Linked DNA regions of Homo sapiens: all the other regions are linked to region 4. Evidence: promoter capture Hi-C in 16 types of primary human blood cells and fetal thymus (Javierre and others, 2016). All regions are on one chromosome and are shown on one strand. Each heading gives the region's core, a stretch centred on a gene start or on the middle of the fragment in contact. The rest is flanking DNA. Distances are from core to core; before and after follow the strand shown.

Evidence for each region. Contacts are between HindIII fragments. The CHiCAGO score rates a contact against its expected background, and 5 or more counts as called.
Region 1: a fragment that was not itself captured here is called in contact with the fragment with the promoter of NDUFS1 in region 4 in 1 of 17 cell types (neutrophils); the score reaches 6.4 in neutrophils.
Region 2: a contact is called between the fragment with the promoter of WDR12 here and the fragment with the promoter of NDUFS1 in region 4, in 1 of 17 cell types (activated CD4 T cells). The highest score is 5.1, in activated CD4 T cells.
Region 3: a contact is called between the fragment with the promoter of FAM117B here and the fragment with the promoter of NDUFS1 in region 4, in 1 of 17 cell types (total CD8 T cells). The highest score is 6.4, in total CD8 T cells.
Region 5: a contact is called between a fragment that was not itself captured here and the fragment with the promoter of NDUFS1 in region 4, in 1 of 17 cell types (neutrophils). The highest score is 5.3, in neutrophils.

The regions. Positions count from the first base shown.
Region 1 is chr2:203,003,913-203,006,612 of GRCh38, reverse strand. No RefSeq gene overlaps it. Among named protein-coding and RNA genes, the nearest start is that of NBEAL1, 9.6 kb to the left of the region's middle. The HindIII fragment of the contact is 7,735 bases long and covers 1-2,700 here.
Region 2 is chr2:202,910,381-202,913,080 of GRCh38, reverse strand. It overlaps WDR12 (WD repeat domain 12), which reads left to right and starts at 1,408. Exons shown (of 13, transcript NM_018256.4): 1 at 1,408-1,645. The coding sequence starts at 1,605. CARF (calcium responsive transcription factor) reads right to left here and starts at 806. Exons shown (of 17, transcript NM_024744.17): 1 at 1-806. RefSeq lists enhancers at 526-575, 676-875, 916-1,065, 1,076-1,225. The HindIII fragment of the contact is 1,677 bases long and covers 492-2,168 here.
Region 3 is chr2:202,633,554-202,636,253 of GRCh38, reverse strand. FAM117B (family with sequence similarity 117 member B) reads right to left here and starts at 1,285. Exons shown (of 8, transcript NM_173511.4): 1 at 466-1,285. The coding sequence starts at 1,066. RefSeq lists silencers at 238-677, 778-827, 1,018-1,247. The HindIII fragment of the contact is 4,588 bases long and covers 1-2,700 here.
Region 4 is chr2:206,158,092-206,160,791 of GRCh38, reverse strand. It overlaps NDUFS1 (NADH:ubiquinone oxidoreductase core subunit S1), which reads left to right and starts at 1,348. Exons shown (of 19, transcript NM_005006.7): 1 at 1,348-1,451. It overlaps EEF1B2 (eukaryotic translation elongation factor 1 beta 2), which reads right to left and starts at 897. Exons shown (of 6, transcript NM_001959.4): 1 at 733-897; 2 at 82-204. The coding sequence starts at 812. RefSeq lists a silencer at 561-630 and enhancers at 891-1,150, 1,261-1,670. The HindIII fragment of the contact is 3,079 bases long and covers 1-2,507 here.
Region 5 is chr2:203,023,176-203,025,875 of GRCh38, reverse strand. All of the region lies in intron 2 of NBEAL1 (neurobeachin like 1), which reads right to left. Among named protein-coding and RNA genes, the nearest start is that of NBEAL1, 9.7 kb to the right of the region's middle. The HindIII fragment of the contact is 9,447 bases long and covers 1-2,700 here.

The sequences.
Region 1 (2,700 bases), core at 19-2,518, 3.2 Mb after region 4:
CCCCTTTATCATTATGTAATGGTCCTCTTTATCACTGATAACTTTCCTTGTTCTGAAGTCTGCTCTGTCTGAAATTAATATGTTTACTTCCTCTTTCTTTTGATTAGTATTAACGTGGTATGTTTTTCTTTACCCATTTACTTTTAATCTATATGTGTTTTTATATTTAAAGTGGGTTTCTTGTAGATAATATATAATTGGGTCTTGTTTTTTGATCCATTATGTCTTTTAAATGACATATTTAGACCATTAACATATAAAGTGATTATTGACATAGTTGGATTGATGTATACCATATTCATTACTGTTTCCTATACATTGTACTTATTCTTTGTTCCTATTTTTGTCTTTCACTCTTTTTCTGCCTTTTACATATATATATATTTTTTTTTTAAATTTTTTTTTTTGAGACAGGGTCTTTGTTGCATAGGCTGGAATGCAGTGGCATGATCATGGCTCACTGCAATCTCAAACTCCTTGGCTCGAGTGATCTGCCCACCTCCACCTCCCAGGTATTTGGCACTGCAGGCACACTCCACCATGCCCAGTTAACTTTTGTATTTTTTGTAGAGACAGGGTCTTGCTATGTTGCTCAGGCTGGTCTTGAACTCCTGGATTCAAATGACCCTCCCACCTTGGCCTCCCAAAGTGGTGGGATTATAGGCATGAGCCATGGCACTCGGCCAGTGCCTTTTAAAATCTTAATTATTTAATATGATTCCATTTCCTCTACTTTTGTAGCATATCAGTTTTACCTTTTTTTTTTTTTTTGAGACGGAGTTTTGCTCTTGTCACCCAGGCTGGAGTGTGGTGGCGCGATCTCGGCTCACTGCAACCTCTGCCTCCCAGGTTCAAACAATTCTGCTTCAGCCTCCCAAGTAGCTGGGATTACAGGCGCCCACCACAATGCCCAGCTAATTTTTGTATTTTTAGTAGAGATGGGGTTTCCCCATGTTGGCCAGGCTGGTCTCGAACTCCTGACCTTAGGTGATCCACCCACCTTGGCCTCCCAAAGTGCTGGGATTACAGGTGTGAGCCACTGTGCCCGGCCCAGTTTTACTCTTTTTTTTTTTTCCTACCTTATTTAGTGGTTGTCCTAGAGTTTGCAGTATACATTTACAACTACTCCAAGTTCACTTTCCAATAGCACTATACCAATTCACAGATATTGCAAGAACCTTATCACAAAACATTCCTAATCATTCCTAATTCCTCTCTCCTGTTCCTTATGTCATTTCTGCCATTCACTTACACCTAAGCAATTGTGTGTATACACACACACACAATTACATTGTTGCCTAGTATTATTTTGAACAAACTGTTGTCTGTTAGATTAACTGAGAATAAGAAAAATAAGAGTTTATATTTTATATTCACTTATTATTTCTCTGATGCTCTTCATTTATTTATGCAGAGAGTTTCTGACCTATGTGTCATTTTCCTTCTTTCTCAAGAAGTTCTTTTAATTATTTCTTATAAGGAAGGTCTGTTGGCAACAAATTCCCTCAAATATTGTTCTGTTCATCTGAGAAAGTCTTTGTGTTTCACTTTTATATGATAATCTTATGGGATACAGAATTCTAGGCTGGTGTTTTTTTTTTTTCTCTCAATATGTTAAATGTTTTACTCCACTGTCTTCTTGATTGCATGATTTCTGATGAGAAGTTGGATATAATCCTTATCTTGCTCCTGCATAGAAAGCTGTTTGTTTTCCTCTGGCTTCCTTCAGGATTTTCTCTTTATCTTTGATTTTCTGTAATTTGAAAATGATAGCCTAGGTGTAGTTTTTTTAAACCACTTATCCTGCTTGGTGTTCTCTGTGCTTTCTGGATCTCTGGTTTGGTGTCTATTGCCAATTTGGGAAGATTCTCTGTCACTGTTGCTTGAAATATGCTTCGCTTCCTTTTTTTTCCTTCTGGTATTCCTATCACACACATTTATACCTTTTGTAGTTATTCCACAGTTCTTGGATGTTCTGAATCATTTTATTCTGTCTTTTTTCTCTTTGCTTTTCCATTTTGGAGGTTTCTATTGACATATTCTCAAACTCAGAAATGTTCTCTTAGCCATGTCCAGTTTACTAATGAGCTCATCTTCATTCAGTCTACTAAGGAGGATTCTTCATTTCTGTTATAGTGTTTTTGATCTGTAGCATTTTAAAAATTCTTTCTTAGAATTTACATCTCTGCTTACATTGCCCATCCGTTCTTGCATGCTGTCTGCTTTATCCATTAGAGCCCTTAGCATATTAATCATAGTTGTTTTAAATTCTCAGTCTGGTAATTTCAACATGCCTGTCTTATATGAATTTGGTTCTGATCTTTGCCTTATGTCTTCAGGTTGTTTTTTGCCTTTTAGGATGCTTTGTAATAATTTTTTCTTTTCTTTTTTTTGAGATGGAGTCTCACTCTGTAACCCAGGCTGGAGTGTAATGGCACAATCTTGGCTCACCGCAACCTCCGCCTCCCGTGCTCAAGCAATTCTCCTGCCTCAGCCTCCCGAGTAGTTGGGATTACAGGCACGTGCCACCGCACCCGGCTAATTTTTGTTTTTGTTTTTGTTTTTCAGTAGAGACAGGGTTTCACCATGTTGCCCAGGCTGGTCTCCAACTCCTGACCTCAGGTGATCCACCCACCTCTGCTGGGATTATAGGCGTGAGCCACTGGGCCCGGCCTGTAATTTTTTCTTGATAGCTGAACA
Region 2 (2,700 bases), core at 159-2,658, 3.2 Mb after region 4:
ATCCAGTTCTGCCTGATTCTAAACTGCTTGTCTCTTGAAGCGAATGCCTTAAAAAGTGACATTGGGATCAGGATAGTTATCTCCATCCATCCTCCCTCAGAAAAACAACTATATTAGAGTAATTCTTGGGACCATTGAGAACAATACACAGGCCTTTGGGTAACTTCAAGACAAAAAAGGCAAAAAGTCGGGGAGAAGGTGTGGGAGGATGATTTTCCCCTTCTAAACGTAAGGTATAAAAGGGCTCAGAAAGCGGAAAAAGAACCCTAAAAAGCAAGGTGCGGGACGGCGTGAGGGACCACACATTGGGCGCTCCGCCCAAGGGGTCCGGCTCCTTCTCCGCGGCGATGGCGCGTCCTTGGGCTCAGCAACCCTCCTGAAGACACCTAACCTCCTCCTTCTCCAGCCTGCCCCTCTGGGGCCTGCGAGCCCCGTCCCGGGCCGGGGGTCGGAAGCCGTGCCATGTGGGACCCCGAAAAGGCCCCCAAGCTTGGCGCGGAAGGCGCCGCCAGTGACCGGCTGCGGCTGGGGGCGGAGGCCGGCAGTTGCTCGGAGCTCCGGCGGGTCAGGAGGTGACGGGAGGAGGAGGAGGCAGGAGGAAGACGGGGGGTTGGGAGGTAGCGTCCGGTAGGTCTGCGCAGACAGCGCTGCCAGACCTCTGACTCCCCCAGTCCTGCCGCCGCCGATAGCCCCACAAGGCGACATGGGAAGTCCGCCGGAGCAGAGGGGAGAAAATTCAAAACGAGTCTACTCAACCTCGTCTTGGCTCCGAGGCCCCGCCATGGAGACCAGCATAATGCGCAGGCGCGCCCCACCGGGAGCGCGCAGAGCAGTCCCACGACAGTAGGACCACTATCGGCCACCGTCGACCGTTTCCTCTCTCATCCGTTCTTTTCTTTGTATTTCCGCCTCTCGCCTCTCTCTAAAAGCCGCAGTTAGAGGCGAGATTTAGGAAAAACCTCTGCCGAGTGAGCCTCTGGTTGGGAATATGTATGAGAAAAAAAAACTGGCAAGGCGTTAGTCAAGCAAAGCTGAAGGCAGAGGAAATTTGATATCTGGCTGGAGTCTAGAGGATTTAATGCAAATAAGATACTCTGAGGGCAGCGTGGCAAAAAAAGACTACAATTCCCGGTGGTCACAGCGTTTGAGAAGCGATGCTTTCTGAGACTTGTAGTAACTAGGAGCTGTGTTTGAACTATCCAGGCTCAGGACAGCCTCTTGAAAAAAAATTTTTTATTAATAAAGCGGATTTGAGTGGGATCTTTTTCCTAATCGATTACGGGCCCACACGTATGGGAAGAATTCTAACAATGATTAAAGGGACATGCTACCTTTACGACTATCCTTTTCTAATCGATGACTCCTAAATCTAGGAGTAGGTAGTCGATGTTTGTGGTCTGGGCGTCTGTAGAAGGGCAACCTCGTGCTTTCTGCAGAGGAGACCGGAGGGCAGAAGGCAGAGTCCAGGCTTAGACTGCAGTTCCTCGCTTACCTGTGCAGTCTAATTTTGAGCTGCCTCTTTGTAGTCTTAAAAGGCAGGAGCTTCGTGTTGTGGGTCTGCTAACCCGTACGTTTCCGTGGGCAAGTCGTGTGTACTCCTCGCCATGGCTCAGCTCCAAACACGCTTCTACACTGATAACAAGAAGTAAGTAAGCGTTCCAGCCTTCTCTCCCTTCCCCAGGTTCCTTTCCGACCACCCCTTTGGTATGACCTTGTGGATCCCTGGTTGTTTCTGCTGTCACCCCCACCCTTTTTTCTGAGATTACCTGCTTTCTAACCAGCTTCGTAGGTTCTATATAATTTGAATTGTGAGTGTGGAGGAGGCTGAAGGGCTTCAGGTTTGCTTTCTGAATGAAACATTTTATATGTGTAATTTAAAAATGAACAGTGGGCCTTGTTATAGGGTGTCTGCTAGTGGTGGTTCACAGTTTTTGAAAACGGAAAAAAAGTTTTTGAAAATGAAAAAACATATTTACCATTTATGTATATCTATATAGATATATAAACATTTTAACCAGTGGTCTCAAGGTCTGTTAGCACTCATTCGAAAACTAATTATATGCTGCCTTGTGGTATATATTGCATTGTTAGCTTTCTTTGTGTTTGCCTGGTCTCTTCCAACTATATTGGAAGTCTCTTGAGGGCAGGGACTATATATTAATTAAGCTTCTTGGATTGGCTGAGTCAACAAAAAATGTCAAATTTTTCAGTGAAAATGATAATATTTGTCGTGTTAATAAGCTAAAGTTAGCCATAAACTAGGAAACTCCCACCTGAGTTACATCTGTGGTTTTGTTTGTAGCTTTATGAGGAGAGCTAGTAAATCATCTTCTCTCCCCTTGTGTTGTTGCTGAAAGTATACATAAATCGTATTATCAATGCACCTGAGTATATGTACTTACTTACATACATTGCCTTAATACTTCTCTAGGAATGTGGTGATGCATTAACATAACCACTGTGTTTTTTAATTGAAAGTAGGTTTTTTTGTTTTTCTTAAAATAAAATTTTTTGAAATATGTGGGGCTTTTTTTTGTTTGTTTGGTTTGGTTTTTTTGGAGACAGAGTCTCACTCTGTTGCCCAGGCTGGACTGCAGTGGTGGGATCTTGGCTCACTGTAACCTCTGTCTCCCGGGTTCAAACAATCTTCCCGCCTCAGCCTCCAGAGTAGCTGGAATTACAGGCATGTGCCACCAAGCC
Region 3 (2,700 bases), core at 36-2,535, 3.5 Mb after region 4:
CCCAGATCTGAAACTGTTTTGTGAACAGAAATACTTAGCAGCAGCAGATATGGGCTATGCCAACATTAACCTTGTCCCTAAAACAAAGTGACAAACCACTCCTAGCCTCACCCTCAAGGGAGGGTAAGCAGTAACGACTCCTCCAGGAGTAAGGCCAGGAAGCCAGGTTTATCATTAACACTCATCAGCTCAAGCCCAAGGTTTAGCCGCTGCACCTCCACCACCAGGGAGCCGTGCGGGGCGGGCAGAGGGGTGAATGAGGCGGGCGGGCGGGCGGGGCGTAGGGTAGGCCCGGGAAAGGCGGGGCCGCACTGCCGGGTCCCCCACCGCCCGGCACCGCCCCCAGCCCCGCCCCCAGCCACCCGGGCTCCGCGGCAGCTCTGCAGTCCCCGCGCGATTGCAGCGCGCGCCCGGGACCCCTTCCCGCAGCCGCCTCCCCCTTGCTGCGCGACCCCCAGCACTTACCTGCTTTGCAAACCGGGGCGCTGGGGCTCCTCTTCTCCGGCGAGCTTCGGCTCTGCTCCGGAGACCTCCTCCGATGCCGGACGCGGGCTGGGGGTGGGGCCGCGCTCACCTCGCCGGTCCACAGGTGGGTGGGCGACGAGCTGGGCGACGACACGGTGCCCAGCAGCGGCGGCGGCGGCGGCGGCCGTGGGGGGCTCCCGCGAGCTCCAGGCGCGGCGCTGCGCGTGGGGCTGGTGCCTCGCGTGGACGTCGCGGACGCGCCCGTCTGCGTGGCCACCGTGGGGCTGGTGCGCGCGGCCGCGTTCCCGCCGCCGCGCGTGGGGCTGGTGCTGCGCGAGGCGGTGCGCGGGCCACCGCCGCCGCCGCCGCCTGCGGGGCCTGAGGCGCCACCACAGCAGCCACCGTTGTTGTTGCCGCCGCCGCCGCCGCCGCTCCGCGTGGGGCTGCCATGTTGCTGCTGCTGCTGCTGCTTCAGCTGGAACGGAACCGTCGCCCTCATGGGCTGCAAGCGGCTCCCGGGTCCCCCGGCCGTGGCCACCGCACCACCCCCAAGGGAGCCGGCCGGCGTGGGGGACCCATTGCGCCTCACCCGCTGGGACATGGTCCCCCCCCTCCCCGGTGACTGGGCGAGACGGGGGGTTTTGTTGTTGTTGGGCTGCAGGGGGAGGATTCTCGAGGCCGGAGGGCAGGCCCCCCAAGACGGGGTGACGAAGCCGGACTCCGGGGTGCAGGGGGAGACCGGGCCGGGGCAGGCAGCAACGAGGTGGTGCAGCCGCCGCCGCCGCCGCCGCCGCTCCTCATCAACAATAGTGTCTCCTCTGCTGCCCCCGCCCCCCACGATCGCCCATTGGTGCAGCGTCAGCCGCGCTCGAGCCGCTCCACTGCTCCCATTGGCTACGAGCAGCTCGGGTCCCGGGCCCCCGAGGCCTTGAGAGCCTGGGTGTGCGCGGAGACCGTCTGCTCTTTAAAGAGAAAGAGACCCGCCCCCCGCGGGGAGGGAGCGGAGGAAATGGGCCCTGTGTGTATGTGTAGTGTGCGCGCGTGTGTGTGTACACGTGAGTGCCCGTGTACGCGCGCGCCTAGCCACGCGCGCCTTTCCTTTCCCGCCGGGGGGAGCCCTGGGGACTCAGACTCTGGAAGGTTGCCAAAGGAAATGTCCAGACCCGGAGCAGTTCCCAGGGATGGTCTGAAGCCTTTTCCGCATAACTCATTTCCTTACCCCAGTGTTCACTTGTGTTCACCTGTACGCGCATCTCGTTCGGGCTTTTATTCTTAATGTTTTTGTTCTGCCCTAATTCCATCTACCTATGGGCAGGGCTCAAAAGGAGAAGAAATTTAACTAATCTTACTGGCATTTTACGCCCCTCTCCTTTTATTTTTTAGAGCTCTACAAAGAGGCAAATCTCAGAAAGATTAAACTTGCCTGTTAGAATGCGATTTTAGATAGTATCTATAGAGTTCAGTTACCACATGTTATTCCTACCCTCCTGTATCTCAAGTAATCAAGACTATTTTAATCAGCTGCTTCGCTGTTCCCTGATACCTTGGAAGGATGGCTGCTACCTTACCAGTTTGTAAAGTGCTATAGTTTACAGAGGGCCTTATTTGATTCTACACGATCATTGTTTGAGACAGAACTGGGACAGCCATCCATATTTTTGTCTAGCGGAGGAAACAAGTCTTTGGTGTGGCAAAGACTCGGGAAGGCAGGCAGTGACACTATTTCTAAAATGACCTAAAGGGCTCCTCATCAAGAAAATAAAAAATGGTGGAGCCAAAACCTACACTCCCACCTGTCTGGCTATAAATTGCCTATCCATGACCTCTTTTCCCTCTACTATTTTTATTAGTTGTACATGCTAGACAGATTTCGTCGTGTAAAAATGTGGGAGTGGAGGGCATAGTATGATTCACTCTGGACCTGAAATCCTACTGGGTCCCTTTGCGCGGTGGTGGAAGGCCTTTTTTTTTTTTTTTTGAGAAGAAGTCTCTCTCTGTCACCTAGGCTGGAGTGCAGTGGCGGAGTGCACTGGCTCGAATCTCGGCTCAGTGCAACCTCCGCCTCCCGCGTTCAAGCAATTCTCCTGCCTCCGCCTCCCAAGTAGCTGGGATTACAGGCGCGTGCCGCCACGCCCCGTAATTTTTCTGTTTTTAGTAAAGAGGCGGTTTCACCATGTTGGCCAGGGTGGTCTTGATCTCTTGATCTCATGATCCGCCCACCTCGGCCTCCAAAAA
Region 4 (2,700 bases), core at 99-2,598:
GGGTCCAGTTTTGTCATGTGAACATCCTGATAAACTTCGAGAGCAGTCTTATTCTTCAGCTCTATACAAAGATGATTTTACCTGGCCTTTTCCTTTTCGTAAGACTTGATGTGATTATACCAACGTAGGGCATGACACAAGTCGGCAGGCGGTGGGCTGGACACGGCTTCAAATACTGCCACATCTGCTTGTGATGGCACATACCTGCCAAGGACACAGAAACATTCACACACACCTTTGAAAAACAAACGCCAGCGAATAAATAATAAATACCGTATGCATCACATTAATTAGTGGGCACTAACCCCAGCAGGGTTGCTTTAATGCTTTTCTTTTCTTATTAGCTCCTTCAAATCAAACCATATGTTTGGGTCACCGCGCTATCCTGAGAAATGTCTGCCACTAAGTAGACCTCAAATACTGCAATGTCTGGCGTTGCTCTATCTACAGCTTAACATGTATTAACTGGGCAGCGATGCGGAAACACCTGGCTGAATTAAGTGTAAATAAAGCACATTTTAACCTTTCCTTGCTCGTGAACCGCTCCCCGGAGGCCGGGCTCGCCCCACACGAGGGCCTTGGGAGACGGCAACGGGGCGCTTTCCCCTCCCTCTCGAAAGGGCCCCGGGCCCGGCCTCCCTCCCTCCCGCGGCAGCCGACACGCTGCGCCACGTGGCCCCGGCCCCGGGCGGAGAAACCTCCCCGCCACCCCGACTCAGCCCGTCCGCTCACCCCTCGATGTAGCTCTTGTCCGCCAGGTAATCGTTGAGCACCTGGAGGCCGGCAGGGCTTTTCAGGTCTCCGAAACCCATGGTGTCGGCTGTATCCGAGAGCTGGGGAGCAGCAGAAAGAGAGCGCGCAAATTGTGGGCGCCCCACGCTGAAGAGAGGAAAAAGGACCCGAAGAGACCGGAAAATTCCTTATATAGAGACGGAGGCGTTTCCCTCCACCGCGCCGGACCGAAGGTTAAAGGTCAAAGTACTTTTGCATTCCCACTTCTCCACGTACGAATTGGGGGCCCTGAATTAAATGGCCCACAAATTGTCCATGGACCTTTCGTTGCGTTTGGAAGTAAATTAATAAAATAGGCATGTCTTAAGTTCGTACCTCCACGGCTCCCGAAGATGACGGGAACCAGCCCTAGAAGCGCCGGAGATGACCGAAGACGCCCGGCCTCGAGGCTGGGGCCACTTCCGGCGGAACTGCGGGTCCAAGTTGTCCTTCCCGCCTCCGGGCTGGGCCGACCTCAGCTCCGCCCTCTGGTCGGCTGACGGAAATTGCCGACAAACTTGTCGAATGCAAGGATTCTAGTCCCTCCGGGCTTTCCGTTCTCCAGGCCCGGCTGACAGAGTTAGCCGAGGCCGCCATATTGAATAAGCGACCCGGCCTCCTAGGGGGTCGTCGTGGTCCAGACAGTTTAGCAGAACAGCCTCCGCGGCTCCGGGGAGAAGGTGAGGTCTTGTATGGATGGGAAGGGTGAGGTGCGTCGGCCAGAGGCTTATTTATTGACGGGACTGTTTCCTTTGGCCCACGCGACGTAGTCTTCTGTTGTCCTTGACTGGGCGCCGCCTCCCGCCCCGCCGCCTCGGAAGCCCCTGAGAGCCGGCAGATGGGGGGCTTTTAGCCACGGTCTCTGGTCTGATGAAGCAGAAAAGAAGATGAGGATCAGGGGGTCCTCGGGAACGCTGTCACGAATGTAGGCTTGCAGGTGACCTTCCCTCTGCAGGGAAAATTCAGGACATTTCCCTCTCAGAGGAGGAGGCCGTTTTATTCCCCGGGAGAGGACCAGTGTCCGATGACTTAGGCCTTAAGACTAAGCCTTTCCCCCCAGATTTTTACACGCCTGATACAGTGCATGATTGTTTGGTCGCTGTTGTGTTAGCAATGGCTCACGCTTCTGTTTGTTGTCCTTGTTTGTTTGGTCCATTGACCACGTTGGACAGCATTTTTTTATTCCTTTAACTAACGGGAAATTGAGAAAAACGACTTTTGAAAAGTTAGCCCAGGATTGCATTGCAAATAACAAAACGTTGTTTACAGGTTATTGGGATCCAGTGCTTGAACTGTAAGGTCTTGGATCAGACACAACTCTGTTCACACACGAATTGACGGTATAGAAGTGTAACGTTAACTGTTTTTGATGAATAAACAAGTTATTTTTGTTTTGCGGAATATTCTTGTTTTCACCGACTTAAGGCTGCCAGAGCACCTGCACTTTTTAAATCCGGGAAAGTGGTCTCTACAAATTAACGACCAGAAATTAGAGATTCAGTTCACTTAACCGTTATTGAACATTTACTACGAGCCAGAAATGAGTCCGTAAAGAAGAATAAAATGGATGATATGCTGGGGGAATCGTAAATGTTAGATAGCCTGGTCAATGAAACTGAGAAAAGGCTTTTAAGCCAAGATTTGAAGGATAAGGAGGGGCCAGGGAAGAGCATTTCAGTCTGAGGTCACAGCCGGTGGCAAGAGGGGAGAGGCTGTGTGGGAATAGTGTGGAAGCTTGGTGACCTGTTAAGCTATTGAAGGCCGGAGGCGGTGGCTCACTCCTGTAATCCCACCACTTTGGGAGGCCGAGGCGGGCGGATCACGAGGCCAGGAGATCGAGACCATCCTGGCTAACACGGTGAAACCCTGTCTCTACTAAAAATACAAAAAATTAGCTGGGCGTGGTGGCGGGCGCCTGTAGTCCAGCTA
Region 5 (2,700 bases), core at 52-2,551, 3.1 Mb after region 4:
CCAAGAAAACACAGCCAAGAGCAAGAGAGAAGAGTAGCCAGGGCAGGTACTGACTCATATCATGGAACATTTCTTCCCTGAGGATAGAGAAACCAGGCAATATTTGCCCAACTGGATTTGCAGAGGACAGATACCAAGTGTCCTCTGAGTTCACAGACCATAATATCAAGAAAAACCACAATTGGATCTATATATACCACAGATCCCATGTTTCAAGACTGGTGTCATGATTGGATGAGAGTTTTGGAGTTCTTGAGATAGATATGAAGTACATTTTGCATATAGGAGAAATATGAATAATTGTGCCTAGAAAGAAGACTGCAGTAGATTGGATCTTTGGTCCCAATTCTTTACTTGCTTGTAACAAAACTTGCAACGTAATTTTGCAGAAAGGAAAAAAAAGCTGTAGCAAATGTAGAGCAATCAAAGTATTTCAGATATAATAATTGTTCAAGACTTGTTTCTAAAACTAAGGTCCGAGAATGCTCGGAGTTATCAGAAATATTTTCAGAGGTCTATAAGCTCCATATAGAAATTTTTAAAGTTTGCACTCCTGTTTTTATTAATTTTTAAATTACTTTAAGCATATTAGGGAAAACTACCTCGCGACTAGTATTGCTACTCGATTTCAAAGGTCACATTTGGATTGCTACCAAGGGATCATCAGTGACAGTTCAATTTATAAAGCAATATGTTTCAAATTACAGATCTCTGGATTTACAGATGGATTCTAAGGTATCTGAGAATTTTCAGATGTTCTACAGCAGTGCCACACAAAGTGTGGTACACAGACCAATAAAGGTCCTTGGCCAGGTTAGTACAAAGATAAAGAGGAAACATCTATCTACAAACTTTAGTAGCAGTTTGGTAGTAATTTTAAGTCTGTTGAATTTAATAATAAAAAATTAATAATATAAGGACTTGCATTTTTAACTTTTTCATTCTTTTCAGAACTGCTTTTGGAAAAGCCATCAATTTATGTATGTATGTATGTATTTATTTATTTATTTATTTCAGACAGAGTCTCGCTCTGTTGCCCAGACTGGAGTACAGTGGTGCGATCTCGGCTCACTACAGTCTCCGCCCCCCAGGTTCAAGCGATTCTCCTGCCTCAGCCTCCTGAGTAGCTGGGACCACAGGCCTGCACCACCATACACAGCTAATTTTTGTATTTTTAGTAGAGACGGGTTTCACCATTTTGGCCAGGCTAGTCTCGAACTCCTGGCCTCAAGTGATCTGCCCACCTCAGGCCGCCAATAATATGTAAACTGTCAAATCCAATACATGCTCCATAATGCTTTTCTTTTTTTCTTTTTTTTTTTTTGAGACAGAGTCTCACTCTATTGCCCAGGCTGGAGTGCAGTGGCACAAATTTGACCCACTGCAACCCCGGCCTCTTGGATTCAAGTGATTCTCTTGCCTCCTAAGTAGCTGCGATTACAGGTGCATGCCACCCCACCCAGCTAACTTTTGTATTTTCAGTAGAGATGAGGTTACATCATGTTGGCCAGGCTGGTCTCAAACTCCTGACCTCAAATGATCCTCCCACCTTGGCCTCCCAAAATGCTGGGATTACAGGTGTGAACCACCAGATGCGGACCGTAATACTTTTCTTGACTGCCATGTTGAATTTGACACCCCTGACTACTTTTTTCTTTTTTTCTTTTTTTTTTTTTGTGTGAGAAAGAGTCTTACTCTGTCACCCAGGCTGGACTAGAGTGGCATGATCCCAGCTCACTGTAGACTGAAACTCCCGAGCTCAAGCAAATCTCCCACCCTGCCCTCCCAAAGAGCTAGAATTATAGGCATGAGCCACTGCACCCAGCCAATATCCCTGTACTTTCTGAGGCAACCCAGTCACTCCTGGCTCCTCTCTCATTTAAACTTACAAACTCTTCTTCCTCTGTCACCTATTTATTTATTTATTTAAATAACAGAGACGTGATCTCACTGTTTTGCCCAGACTGGTTCCAAAACTCTGTCTTCTTCTTAAATGACAATGTTCTTCAGGGCTTCCTTTTACCTTCTTCTCTTCTTATTCTCATAATAACCCTCCAATAATTCCCAATATGAGAACTCTCAAATCTTTATTTCCAGCACAGACCTCTCTTCTGAACTCCACATATTGAGTATTTCTACCTGAATGTCCCACAAACATGGAAAAGTCAGCATGCTTACCTGAAAACCTAGTTAGTGATCTTGTCTAGCTAACTGTGCATGGGAAGACCACGGTGTTTTTTTTTGTCCGAAACAAACAGAAAAAAAAAAAACACACAAGAAATTATTTCAGACTCTTACACATCTGCACATTATACTCCACACTTACACTTAAGTACTATCAATTTCACCTTCTTCCAGGGAAATTTAAAGTTTGATGCTCAAAAGGAAAGAATTTAAAAAGTTAATGCATCTTAACAACGTTTTTCATTTCAGGTCCACTGATATAAACTATACATTTCTTGCTTTCATACCTAAATTCTGAAAATAAACATGTAAGTGGTAACTACTAGTACTAGGCTGTCAATGATTTTGTTTTCTTTTCTTTAGAGTCAAAGAACATTACCTTCCTTACATACAAAGCTGTTATTAAGCCACAGAAAATCAAGAGCCATTTTCACACTTTGCACATACCAGAGACTTACTAAATGTGGCTTAAATTATAAGGGTTGATATGTATTGGTCCATCTTACTAAAAACTTA